Linked DNA regions of Homo sapiens: region 2 is linked to region 1. The links are contacts of gene promoters, found by promoter capture Hi-C in blood cells and fetal thymus (Javierre and others, 2016). All regions are on one chromosome and are shown on one strand. Each heading gives the region's core, a stretch centred on a gene start or on the middle of the fragment in contact. The rest is flanking DNA. Distances are from core to core; before and after follow the strand shown. Region 1 overlaps BUB1B-PAK6 (BUB1B-PAK6 readthrough). Region 2 holds the start of BMF (Bcl2 modifying factor).

What was found. Contacts are between HindIII fragments. The CHiCAGO score rates a contact against its expected background, and 5 or more counts as called.
Region 2: the fragment with the promoter of BMF here is called in contact with a fragment that was not itself captured in region 1 in 5 of 17 cell types (naive B cells, endothelial precursors, total B cells and 2 more); the score reaches 8.2 in naive B cells.

What each region holds. Positions count from the first base shown.
Region 1 is chr15:40,264,762-40,271,043 of GRCh38, forward strand. BUB1B-PAK6 (BUB1B-PAK6 readthrough) reads left to right here. Exons shown (of 10, transcript NM_001128629.3): 3 at 20-228; 4 at 1,081-1,734. The coding sequence starts at 25. PAK6 (p21 (RAC1) activated kinase 6) reads left to right here. Exons shown (of 11, transcript NM_001395430.1): 4 at 20-228; 5 at 1,081-1,734. The coding sequence starts at 25. Among named protein-coding and RNA genes, the nearest start is that of PAK6-AS1, 15 kb to the left of the region's middle. The HindIII fragment of the contact is 5,642 bases long and covers 1-5,273 here.
Region 2 is chr15:40,106,620-40,112,901 of GRCh38, forward strand. It overlaps BMF (Bcl2 modifying factor), which reads right to left and starts at 2,260. Exons shown (of 5, transcript NM_001003940.2): 1 at 2,154-2,260; 2 at 1,640-1,767. RefSeq lists silencers at 289-583, 2,068-2,317 and an enhancer at 863-1,558. The HindIII fragment of the contact is 6,207 bases long and covers 508-6,282 here.

The DNA.
Region 1 (6,282 bases), core at 1,203-3,702:
CCTTACTCTGCACTTACAGGCACCATGTTCCGCAAGAAAAAGAAGAAACGCCCTGAGATCTCAGCGCCACAGAACTTCCAGCACCGTGTCCACACCTCCTTCGACCCCAAAGAAGGCAAGTTTGTGGGCCTCCCCCCACAATGGCAGAACATCCTGGACACACTGCGGCGCCCCAAGCCCGTGGTGGACCCTTCGCGAATCACACGGGTGCAGCTCCAGCCCATGAAGGTAAGAGGGGCCGGCAGGGATGAGGTTCAGCCTCTCCCAGTACTCAGACAACCATGCCTGGCTAAACCTCAGAAAGGCCCCTGGAGGAACCACCTACTTCACAGCTATCAGTTAATCAGCTGTTTTAACTCCCTGCCTGTCAGCCTGCCATTCTCTCCCTGGGTAAGCCAGGGCGAAGGAGGCTGGGGAGACCCTCTCTGCAGGGTGGTGGGGTTGCCAGATTCAGCACATGAAAATGTGAGATGCTCAATTGCATTTGTATTTCAGATGACAACGAATAGTCTTTTAGGACGTGTCCCATTCAATATTTGGACCTGCAGCCCCATAGGGACTGAGGGCTCTCCCAGACCAGGAGAATTTTAGTTGTGAGGGTCACGACTAGTAGACCCAAGAGCCTGGTAGAAGGTGGGGTCAGGGGCCCTATCAGGGTTTGGAGGCTGCGAAGCCAGTGTGTGTGGAGGAGCCCCCGGCCTGGTGTCTCTTCCTCAGAGGGCTGGGCACATCTCTCCCAGCCACCCGTGGAGCTAGAGAATGGAGCCCCGCCCCCTGAGCTCCAGCTCCCTGGCCCAGCCGACCACACCCCTGGGCATGCTGGATGCAGCCCCATGGCACTCACCATCTGCTCTGCTGACGCTGGGCCTTCTCCCCGCATCCCTGCATCCAGCACAGGCGGGACCCACGGTGGGCCCTGATAAATTATGGAAAAATTAATGGGTGGATGACACAGCAGGGAAGGTCCTTAGGTGGTCCTCCCCAGGGCCCCCAGGGACATTCTCTGACCCTGATCTCCCAGCCACCCCTCCCTGCCACAATTGGGCAGCTCCCACACACTCTTTTCTCTTCCCCCTACAGACAGTGGTGCGGGGCAGCGCGATGCCTGTGGATGGCTACATCTCGGGGCTGCTCAACGACATCCAGAAGTTGTCAGTCATCAGCTCCAACACCCTGCGTGGCCGCAGCCCCACCAGCCGGCGGCGGGCACAGTCCCTGGGGCTGCTGGGGGATGAGCACTGGGCCACCGACCCAGACATGTACCTCCAGAGCCCCCAGTCTGAGCGCACTGACCCCCACGGCCTCTACCTCAGCTGCAACGGGGGCACACCAGCAGGCCACAAGCAGATGCCGTGGCCCGAGCCACAGAGCCCACGGGTCCTGCCCAATGGGCTGGCTGCAAAGGCACAGTCCCTGGGCCCCGCCGAGTTTCAGGGTGCCTCGCAGCGCTGTCTGCAGCTGGGTGCCTGCCTGCAGAGCTCCCCACCAGGAGCCTCGCCCCCCACGGGCACCAATAGGCATGGAATGAAGGCTGCCAAGCATGGCTCTGAGGAGGCCCGGCCACAGTCCTGCCTGGTGGGCTCAGCCACAGGCAGGCCAGGTGGGGAAGGCAGCCCTAGCCCTAAGACCCGGGAGAGCAGCCTGAAGCGCAGGCTATTCCGAAGCATGTTCCTGTCCACTGCTGCCACAGCCCCTCCAAGCAGCAGCAAGCCAGGCCCTCCACCACAGAGCAAGGTAAGTCAGGAGCCTGGCCTGCAGGTGTCCACTGGGGAGTGGGTGTAGGGACACAGGCCTTGCCTAGCCTTCCCCTTGGAGGACTGGCAAAGAGGCTCCCTGGACTGCTTCCGCCTAAGGCGGCAGAAATGTGCACGGTAACCTCTTCTCTAAGGAGGGTGGCTCGCCTCCTCCTTCCCTCCCTTCCTTTCCTTCTTTTCTCTGTGGCTGTTGTGTTGTTTCCCATTTCTGTCAGTATTTGTTCCCAAGTGTGTGGCCATAGGAAAAGCTGGATTTGCCTAGTCCAGGGGCAGCAGGAGGCCGACTTGTGGCATGTGTGACTGCTTCAGACGCACATTTTTCTTGTGAGAAAGGAAAGGGTGAAGGGAGCCCCCGTGGTGACATTTCTTGGCAGGCAGAGTGGAGCGCACCTTTTTGCTTCTTCCAGGCCCTCCAGCATCCTGTTGATAGTGACAGTAACCTCTTTTCCCATTTGGCAGAGGAGGAGACTGATAGAGAGAGGGTGAGTCACCCCCAGGCATGATGGAGAGTGAGTCAGAGAAGGAAGGTGGGGAGTGCTCTGGGGCTGCCTGTCCGGCCCGGGCCCTCTTGGCTCATGACTCTTGCGTATGAAGGCTTTACAAGCACAGCAGCCACTTGTTCTTTAGCTCCTTCCTGGGAGGGTCAAAGGCAGTCCTAAGAAACGGCTGCTGACAGTGGCATGGGTAATGGAGCCTCCCCTCCCTCCTGGGAGGGCTTTAAGACAAGCCTGGGTACTCCCCTGTCATCGGTGGGGTGAGTGTGGCCCAGCCTGCACAGGGTGTGGGTTTGGGGATGACCCGGACTACAACCTCTCTGGGTCACTGCCTGCCAGCTGAGGTACTCAGAGAAAGTTCTGGGCGGCCGCGCGTGGTGGCTCACGTCTGTAGTCCCAGCACTTTGGGAGGCCAAGGTGGATGGGTCACGAGGTCAGGAGATCGAGACCATCCTCGCTAACACGGTGAAACCCCGTCTCTACTAAAAATACAAAAAAAATTAGCCGGGCGCGGTGGCGGGCGCCTGTAGTCCAAGCTACTCAGGAGGCTGAGGCAGGAGAATGGCGTGAACCCGGGAGGCAGAGCTTGCCGTGAGCTGAGATCGCACCACTGCACTCCAGCCTGGGGGACAGACAGAGCGAGACTCCGTCTCAAAAAAAAAAGAGAAAGTTCTGAGCTTTGTGCACTCTAGTCCCCTACTAGGTTAAAGGACAGTGGGTTGGGATCCCCATGGGTTGTGGCTTGATGTATCTGTGAGAGGAACACGAGCATCTGTGAGCTGCAGGGTGTCTGGAAGGCTGTGCCCCTGGGGAGACTCAGCCAGAAAACCAACGTAAGATCAGGACAGTGCACCCTGCTGGGAAGGTGAGATTCGGAGCTTGACCTCCCTCTGTCTCTCAGGAGTCCTGCTGCGAGGCCTCAGGGATTTGGAGAAAGGGGTTGTCAACACTGGGCTGGGCACTCATTTGCATCTTTCTGGGCTCCTGCCAGCACCCCACAGCAGGGGGAGAGGCCTGTCCATCCCTGCACAATGTACTGAGTACTCACCATGGGCCACTGCTGCTGGGTATGCCGGGATGTCCCCCATACTTGTGGGAGCAGGCGGTAGTTATCTCGAGCTCAGCAACACCATACTTCCAAATCCAGGGGAGTGGTTTCCTTCTGGGCAACTCAGACACATCTTTCAAGATTTCTACTCTGAAGCCAAGCCTCTCAATGGCAAGCTGAGACCCCCCGAGCTGCTCCGGGCCGGGGCTTCTCAGCGTCCTCACTGCAGGCGCTCAGGTCAGTCCATCCTTTGTGGTGGGCTCTCCTTGCACTGTAGCAGCCTCCCTGGCCTCTACTCACTAGAAGTTGGTGGTACCCTCGGTTGGAATAACCAAAAATGCCTCCAGACACTGCCAAATGTCACTCGAGCACACCCATTAAGAACCACTGCCTTAAGCAAATTCAATAACAGATGGGGAGCATCAGCCTTCCTCCTCCTCCTCCACCACCACCTACCCCAGGAGTCCCCAGATCAAGCCAGCAGCCCTTGGCACTGGGGCTGACTCTGGACACTTGCAGCAGCTTCCATAACAGCAGTTAGGCCACAGAGGCCATGCAGTGTGCCAGGCATGGCTGCAGGAGGGTCTGAGTATAGACTCCAGGGCTCCTGTACCTAGCCCCAGGCAGTGAGGCCTGGAGTCACTCTAGCTAAAGAGATCAGGAAGACAGGGCGTGGGGGCACAGAGACCAAAGAGGCAAGACAGTTTTTTAGGAGCTTGCAGGGATTAGACATGTTCCACTTAGAGTCAGAAGGGCAAACATTGGTTAAGCACCTACCGTGTACTCCGATATATGTCAAGGATACATGGCACCAGTGGGATTGCAGCATGGGAGTCAGCAGCCACGGGCGTCCTGCGGGTTCCAGTGCCTACAGGACAACCAAACAACCCACAGGGTTATGAGGATTACATGAGATAGTACGTTGAAGGCACTTGTCAAAGTGGTAAGCCCTCAATAAATGGCTTTATTAGTAGTATTTGAGATGGCGTCTCCCTCTTTCGCCCAGGCTGGAGTGCAGTGGCACAATCTTGGCTCACTGCAACCTCCACCTCCTGGGTTCAAGTGATCCTCCCACCTTAGCCTCCCAAGTAGCTGGGATTACAGGCACGCTCCACCATACCCAACTAATTTTTGTATTTTTAGAAGAGATGGGGTTTCACCATGTTGCCCAGGCTGGTCTTGAACTCCTGACCTCAAGTGATCCACCTGCCTTGGCCTCCCAAAGTGCTGGGATTACAGGCACCTGAGCCACCATGCCAGGCCGGCTTTATTATTTTTAAAAATATTATGCCATGGCCTCTCCCCTTTAGGATACTTAAGGTATAGCCCCCTAAGCCCACAGCTGGGGAGCCATGGCTCAGGGCGGGAAATGAGGCATTGCTGTAAATGTATGCATGACTCTTCTAGTGGCTTTCTTCCCAAGAGGTCTATCACATGAGTAACTTCAGAATTAATCCAGAGCCTGTAACAATTAATTAATTCTGTTGTCGTGTCCCCCTTTCCCTTTCTTGTGTGGCCTCACAAGTTTCATCTGGTCCTTGCTTGTGATTACATTGATAAAAGCTCCCTCCCTGTGGAGACAGGCAGTGAAGCCAACGAAAGGATGCTAGAGACCAGACCTTGCCAGGCTGAAGACCAAGCCAGCTCCCCAGACTCCCCAGCCTATGTCCCAGACTCTGCTTGTGCTGGGCTCCTGGCTGGGCCATCCCTCCCCCAGCCTCCAGACGCAGGCTCCGCCCTGAGCCCAGCCAGCACCTGCAGCAGCAGCAGCAGCACAGGGACCTGGCCTGTGGAGACAGGGAAGAAACCCCTACCTCAGCCTGTCCACGTGGTACCCACACATCCTCAGAGTAGAGCTGGCCCATGCAGAAGCCCTCAAGGCCAGGAGGGGAATGATCTCATTTTACAGCCTTTCTTAGGAGCTTCAGGATGAGAGGTCATCAGAGCCACCTCAGGAGGAGCTTTAGGTGGTCCCCAAGCTTCTGCCCCGACCCACCTGGATGGGTGCCTGGAGAGCATGTTTTCTGAGTTAAGTCCACACTCAGGCCAGCAGGCAGCTTCCTTAGAGCCCCGAGCCTTTCTACAGGTTGACTGTGTGATGCAGTGAGCCCTGCCCCACTTCCCTCCCTGTCCCTGCCTGGTGACGTCTCATGGAACCTCTGTTCCCAGGACCTGGTATCACAGCCTCAGTCATGGCCATGCGCCCTCCACCCCCCTCACAGCCCTCCCAGAGGCTCCCTGAGGCCGTAAGATCATACTGCCCACTTATGCAGAGTTTCTCAAAGTATGTTCCATGGGCCTCCTAGGACCCAGGGACCTTGTTCAAATGCAGTCTCTGCTCTAGGCTCCCACCGAATCAGGCTCTGAGGCGGGAAGTCTGCGGTTTCTCTAGCTCCCCAGATCTCTGCACACGTCCCTGCATTGTAGTGGAGACAGGCTCAGAGAGGATGACTTGCCTAAGGCTCATCACAGGGCAGAGCAGCCCAGGGCTGGGCCCCAGGTCCTGACAGCCCAGTCCAGGGGTCCCACTGCTCCACTACACAGTGGATGGTGACAGTGTCACAGTGTCACAGTGGATGGTGACAGTCAGGTGCTGGCGAGGACATGGGAGAATGTTTACTGTCCAAATGTACTCATCAGGGATGGAGTGAGTCCAGGCAGTCCTGGGAGGATTGCTAGCTTCTTTCCTGTGAAGGTCAAGCACACACTCGGGTGGGCAGGCAGGTGTGGGGGTGGCAGAAGTCTGCCCCAGCATGGCTGTCGGCCAGCAGGAGTGCCTATTCCACCCTAAGCAGGCCAGGGACTTGGCTGGAGAGTAGAAGCCCTGAAGCTGCGGGGGGTCGGGGAAGGAAGGGAGTGAGGGTTGCCAAAGACACTGAAAAGACTCTGGTGGGGCCCAAGGCCCAGATTTGGGGTTTGGGGTCCCTGAGCAAGCATCCCAGCCCAAACTTACTGCTTGAGATTTCCTGTAAGTTGTTTCAGCTAT
Region 2 (6,282 bases), core at 1,010-3,509, 160 kb before region 1:
ACAAAAGCCAGCAATCCTAGGACAGCCAGGTTCCCTCCAAACCTCTAAGCCCCGCCCTGCTGCCCATCTACTCTAATCTCCACCCCTTGCTTGCACAACACAACAAACAGGCTCTGCAGTGTGGTAAGAATGTGTCCTGGGAGAGGGGATAAAGACCCAAGCTAGTCATTGCAGCTGCCGTCTCGGCTCTCTTTGAGCAGAGTTGAGCTGTCTGCCCACCAAAGTTTGGCCTAGAGGGTAGGTCCAGCCTCTCCCAACTAAGTCTCCTCACTAGTCTCCACGACTTCAAATCCCTGATTCCACAGCCTCCCGCTCCTGCCAGCTCTGAACCTGAGACTGGTACAACTGGTCTTACAGAAGGAAGTGAAATTCAGCCCTCTCCCTGTGACCTCACTCACTGCCTATACTGCTGAAGTTATTGATATGAGTTTCTTGGTGATAAAGAAGTTCCTCTTGCTCCACCTGATGGCTCTTGAAAGTCTGAGCTTGGAGCTACTCAGCATCTTAAGCTTCCAACCCAGCTCCCTACACATACCAGGAACTGCTTAGGGCCCCTGCAGCAGCCAGAAGCAGCAACCACCTGAACAGCTAAGGATAAAAAGAGATGAATTTCATTCTTGTCAGACTCAATTAGAGATTCCTGGGGGTTCTGTCCCCTAGTCTCTTGCCTTTGAAGAACAAGCCAAATGGTCTATGGATTGGTGAAGTAGCTAAAAGAATCTCAGTTCAATTCAGAATGCTGCCTTTGCCAAACACAAGCTGTGAGCTGCTTGCTTGGGCCCTGCCTTCGTCCCATCCCATCCCTGTCCCTGAGCTGTCTATGGTCCTGTCTGTGCCCTCTTCCCTGGAGAATGAGGAGATGCCTGCTAGGATGGCAAGCAGCCACGTGGTGTTCTTTGGACCGTGTTTCCCAAGTGTGTGTGTGTGTGTGTGTGTGTGTGTGTGTGTGTGTGTGTATGGGGAGGGGGGTGAGGTGGTGCACTCCAGCTTATTAACAACAGGAAACAAAATTTCCTGATGAAAGGACCAAGTGCTGTCCCGCCAGTCACCTGGCAGGGGCTCCCCTCCAGCTCTCCAACCTCCTCTTCTCAGGCTAGCAATCTTGACCTAAGAAGGGGCCCTCAAAGCCAATCACCAGCACGAGTCATTGTCTTGGTTTTTCCTTTGAAGCCTATCACCTTCCCCTCCCCCTCCCAGCAAAGCCCCAAAGTTCAACCTTTGCCTGGACTGGACAGTGGGGGAGGTGCAGCCAGAAGGTGTGGCTCTGCAAGCCCCAGGGACCCCTCTCACGCTCCACAAACTGTAGGTGGCTTGCCTGTAGGTGGGCGCCTCTGGAGGGGTGCTGGCCAAGGTCAAGGGTAAACTAAGAGAGGGTGAAATTTTTCTCCTGAGCTTAAGAGGTGATGTCCAGAGCGGTGGGAGGAGGAGGGCACTTCCTGAGAACAGGGCCAGGGAATGCTTTATTCCTAGCAAAGGAACTCAAGCCCCGCTGCAGCCATCCCAACCCCTAAGGGCTGGAAGAGGGATGCTGAACTTAGACTCCTCCTCCTCTTAGGAGAAGGCAGTAGTCAGACACCCAGATCCTCGACAGTGACTAGGAACACACACACACACACACACACACACACACACCCCAGACCTGGGTGACTCCAGGAGAGAGTCTCGGCCTCCGAGTCGTGATGCCAGGGCTCCGCGCCAGGGTCCAGCGTGACGAGCACTCGGGGGCTGGACGCCCAGACTCGATTGGGAAGGAGGGAAAAAGCCCAGCTGTTAAGGAGAGGAGCCTTCAGACTCCGCAGAGAGGCAGGATGCCCCACAGCTCCTGTCCTATCCCAAAGTCAGACCCAGAGGCTGGGCCGTTCTCGGGCGCCCAGGTCTGCTCAGCAGTGCACCCCAGGTTCCCCTGCCTACCTGGACCCAACTCCTTCGAGTCCCAAATGCTACCCCCAAGTTCCCTCTTGGAGCAGCGCACCCAACTGTGGGTTCTGCACCCCGTTCCCTCACCCCAGCGCCCCAGTTCTTCATGGTCACCCCAGACGTCCGCAGCCCAAACCCTTCCCGGGCCCCCGTGCGCAGCGCGACTCCGCTCCCCACTTCCCCAAGGAGCTGCGATCCAACTCCGCCCGGCCCCCGGCGGCCACCCGGGCGCTCACCGGGCTGCGGCAGGAGGCGGGAGGCGCAGGCAGGGGCGGCGGCGGCGGCGGGCACAGGCCGGGGCGGGAGGAGGCCACTCCGCACGGTGCGGTATTGTTTCCAAAATACGCCTGCTCGGGGCATCCCGCAAACAGCTGATGAGGCCCCGCCCCCCTGCGCGTCACGCCGAGGACTGACCAATGGCGAGTGAAGCGCCAAGTCCCGGGCTGGGCCGCTGCCAGGGACGGTCACGAATGTACGAACCTTCCCATGGAAACATTGCAAGGGGCCGAGCAAAATTCCGACCGTCGCCAGAAGCGCAGTCGGAGCGCCGTCGCCAGTGCGGATTCTGTCCCTAACACAGGCTCTGGAAGCGCCAGAGAGTCCCTGAATCCTCTGTATTAGGTGTGGGAGAGGGGGCGCCAAAGTAACTTTTGTCTTCTTTTTCACGGCAATGGGCAGAATAATTGCTGCGCGTCCACAAAGGGAGGGGGGAAGGAGGCGGGGAGTTTTTTTATGAGGCTGGTGCGTCCAGTGGGTGCAGGGTGCAGGGTGCGGGTCCCTATGGGATCCCAGCCTCAGGGGAAAGCTCCCTCCCGCCTGCCGAGCAGGTCGGAAGAAAACTGCAGCTCCAAAGCTGAAGGTGTGTTTGAAACAAACACATCCAGGGGAGCCCTTAGGTCCTCTTCTTGACTGGGCGTGGGCACTGGCAAAATAAGCACCTGGCTGAGAAGCGGAGCGCTCAAGAAGGCCGGGGCTGCTTGAGCGGTTGACACATATCTCGCATATGGCAGCATTTAGAGACTGTGCTGGTGCTGCCAGGAGAGCAGCATGTCCTGCAGACCGCGTAAGGGAGTCTATGGGCTACTTCACAGGCATTTACCGAGCACCTACTCTGTGCCAGATATTGGGCTGAGTGCCAGAAACCTGGCGTCTGCCCTCAAGGAGCTTACAGTCTACTAGGAGAGGTAGCCCTGAAAATAGTGAAAAGTTATTGGAATTGTATTCATTCCAAGGATAATGACTATTGAGGAATGCAGAAAAATTCAGAATACAAAGGCTGGAGAAGGCCTCAGGGAGACAGCTTTTAAATTGAATGGGAAATATTTTTCAATAAGGAAAACCAGATGCACATGTCTCACGCCTGTAATCCCAACACTTTGGGAGGCCGAGGCGGGTGGTTCACTTGAGCTCAGTGGTTGGAGACCAGCCTGGCCAACACGGGAAACCCTGTCTCTACTAAAAATACAAAAATCAGGCGGGCGTGGTGGCGCATGCCTGTAATCCCAGCTACTTGGGAGGCTGAGGTAGGAGAATTGCTTGAACCTAGGAGGTGAAGGTTGCAGTGGGCGGAGATAGCGCCACCGCACTCCAGCCTGGGCGACAATGAGACTCCGTCTCAAAAAAATAAAAATAAAATAAAATAAAAAAGAATAGCCCAGGCCTAAGGGTAGCAGACTGAAGTGCTGAGCTGGAGAGCTTACCTGTGCAGGGAGCAGAGGGAGGCTTGGTGACTGGATCATTGGGTGCACACTGAGATTTACGAACGGTAGGCATGGGCAGGTGGGTTCAGGTCAGACTACAGAGGTGTCCCTGGAATGCCAGACTGAAGAATCTGTATTTTATAAAGGGGAGGCAGCAAAGATTTTATTGGAGATGAGTGACTTGACCAAGCCTGAGTTTTAGGAAAGATAAAATGATGAGTCCAGAGAGCAGTGAGAGGGAGCCAGTCCTGCAACAACCCTGACCCACCAGGGGCAGTAGGGCTCAGCAGTGCTCTGACCACCGAGCTGCTCTCTGGGTTGTAAACTTAGATTTAAGTTCAGTGGAGCTGGGACCTTCAGCCCAATAGAGCCTGAAGTCTCCTTGTACCTTTTTCCCATCATTCTTTCCTTTGCTCCCTCAGAAGTCACCTGAAACAGAATGAACCAGCCATATTGAGGGCTGTGGTTGCTAGAATAGAAAAATACTGTCTCCAAAGGACAAAGAGGGAAAAGGGAAAGAGTGGGGAGTCAAGGTTAGCCAGTAGCACAGTCCCCCGAAATTGATAGATTTCCAGCAAAAGGCACTAAGCCAAAAGGAGGTATATTATTTTACCCAGAGGCTTGGCCAAAAGTGCATGTCTGAGCTGGTCAGAGTGACCTTGCACTCCTGCTACATGTAGGGAGATACAGAAACCAAACCTAGCCTCTGTGAAGGGCACCGGCAGCCCTCCGTGATTTCCAATGCACCGACTCCCTTCCGCTCCTTCCTTCCATCCTTCTCTTCTCATTTGCTTTCCTATCAGACCAGTGTCTCAGGCTGGCCAGTGGTGCCCCTGAGCATTCCTTCGGTTCAAGAGTGAAACTCAAGGCCACAGCAGCTCTGAATCTGCCCTCTGGGACAGCACAGGCCCTGAGGGCTGGGGCCATCGTAGCTCTCCTGACCCACCTGAGATGCTAAAGCTCTGTGTGCTTCATCACAGCCCTGCATGGTAAAATTGGGTCCACAAGGCAAAGAAGCTGAGAGAATGGGTTCTTTTTGTTTGTTTTGAGACAAGGTCTTGCTCTGTTTCCCAGGCTGCAGTGCAGTGGTGCAAACACAGCTTATTGCAGCCTCAATCTCCCAGGCTCAAGTGATCCTCCCACCTCGGCCTCCCAAGTAGCTGGGACTGCAGGTGTGCACCACCACAGCCAGCTACTTTTTAAATTTTTTATTTTTGTACAGACAGGGTCTCACTATGTTGCCCAGGCTGGTCTTGAACTCCTGGCCTCGAGCACTCCTCCCACCTCGGCCTCCTAAAGTGCTGTGATTATAGGCATGAGCCACCGCACCCAGCCAAGAATGGGATATTGATATGGGATCTATGTACTCATCAGGCTCATCAGAGTCCTGAGCTTTAGGGTTTATGAACCCCTGAAACTGGCTAAACTGTGTTTGTGGGTACACACAAACATTTTTGTGAGTGGGGTGGATCCATAGCTTACAACAGTTTCATAAAGTGGTCTGTGGCCCTATAAAGGTTTCAGAAAATCGTCATTGTGACAGAACTGGGCTGAGGAACAGGAGGGAGTATCTCAGGGGGTCTGGCAGTTTGCAAGATATGGGGAGGGTCACATCACTATTGATATTTATTTTAAGACCTCTCTCCCAGGTCTTCACAGCCTGCTCCCTCAGGCTGGTTCTGAAAGACACCTGTGGCTTTGCCTCCTGCGCTCTCAGTCTCTAAGGTCAAGCAGCAAGGGGCCCAGCCTTCTGAGCTAGAGGGACCAGAGAAGGACTGTCAGGGATAAAGGGGTCAGGGAGGTCAGGAGCCTCACCCCCACCTCTCATCACTGTCAAAGCAGACTCCTCCCTCTATGCCCTTTTCCCCCTTTCAGCACTGCATGGACTCAGCAGTATCAGGACCTGCTGTGCTGCAGATCTGGGCTCTGAGCCCCCTGACCAATAGCAGCACCCTGGGAACAGATGAACCCTGAGCTTTTGACTGGGCTCGGAGCAAATACACAGTGCAGTCACAGCAACCTCTATTTTGGAGAATTTCCTTTCTCTCATTCTCTTCCTGCACCTTGTCTCAATTTGTTTTCTCCTCTGCTAACTGATGCTGGCTCTGGGAGAAGGGTCCCCAGAGAAAGGCATCAGCACGGAGGCTGATAGGGAGGAGGGCCTTCCCTGACAATCTTGGAGGGATACAGAGTTAAGGGGAGGCTGCTCTCAACCAGAGAGAAAACCCAGCTCCTGTAGAAAGCGGGCAGGAGCCCTCTCCATTGTCTCACCTGGCTATAGGATTTCTCTCTGAGACAAGAAATGGCTCTAAAACTCCAGTAACTGGATCACTGGAAAGGGCGGTTTTTAAAAAACCAGCTGACAGCTGAATAATAGGAATTACCAGGCAGGCTGCCCTGGGGTTACTGAGGTTTGTAACTCAACCCCCAGGGAGGGGTTAGATGGGAAACTGATTTATGGGTAAGGTTGGGGTCTTGCTGGGGGAGCACATGGTGCCTGACCCCCTTAACTACTTCCAGAAGAGCTCATATATGTAAGAAAGACCAGGGATCTGCAAGACGTGGGTGTCCTTCCCTTGCCGGACTTGCCCTATCAAAGGGACTTTATCTGTTATCCGTCTGTCTGCAAAGGATAGTTCCTCTCTTCTGAGTTGTAGAGAGTGTG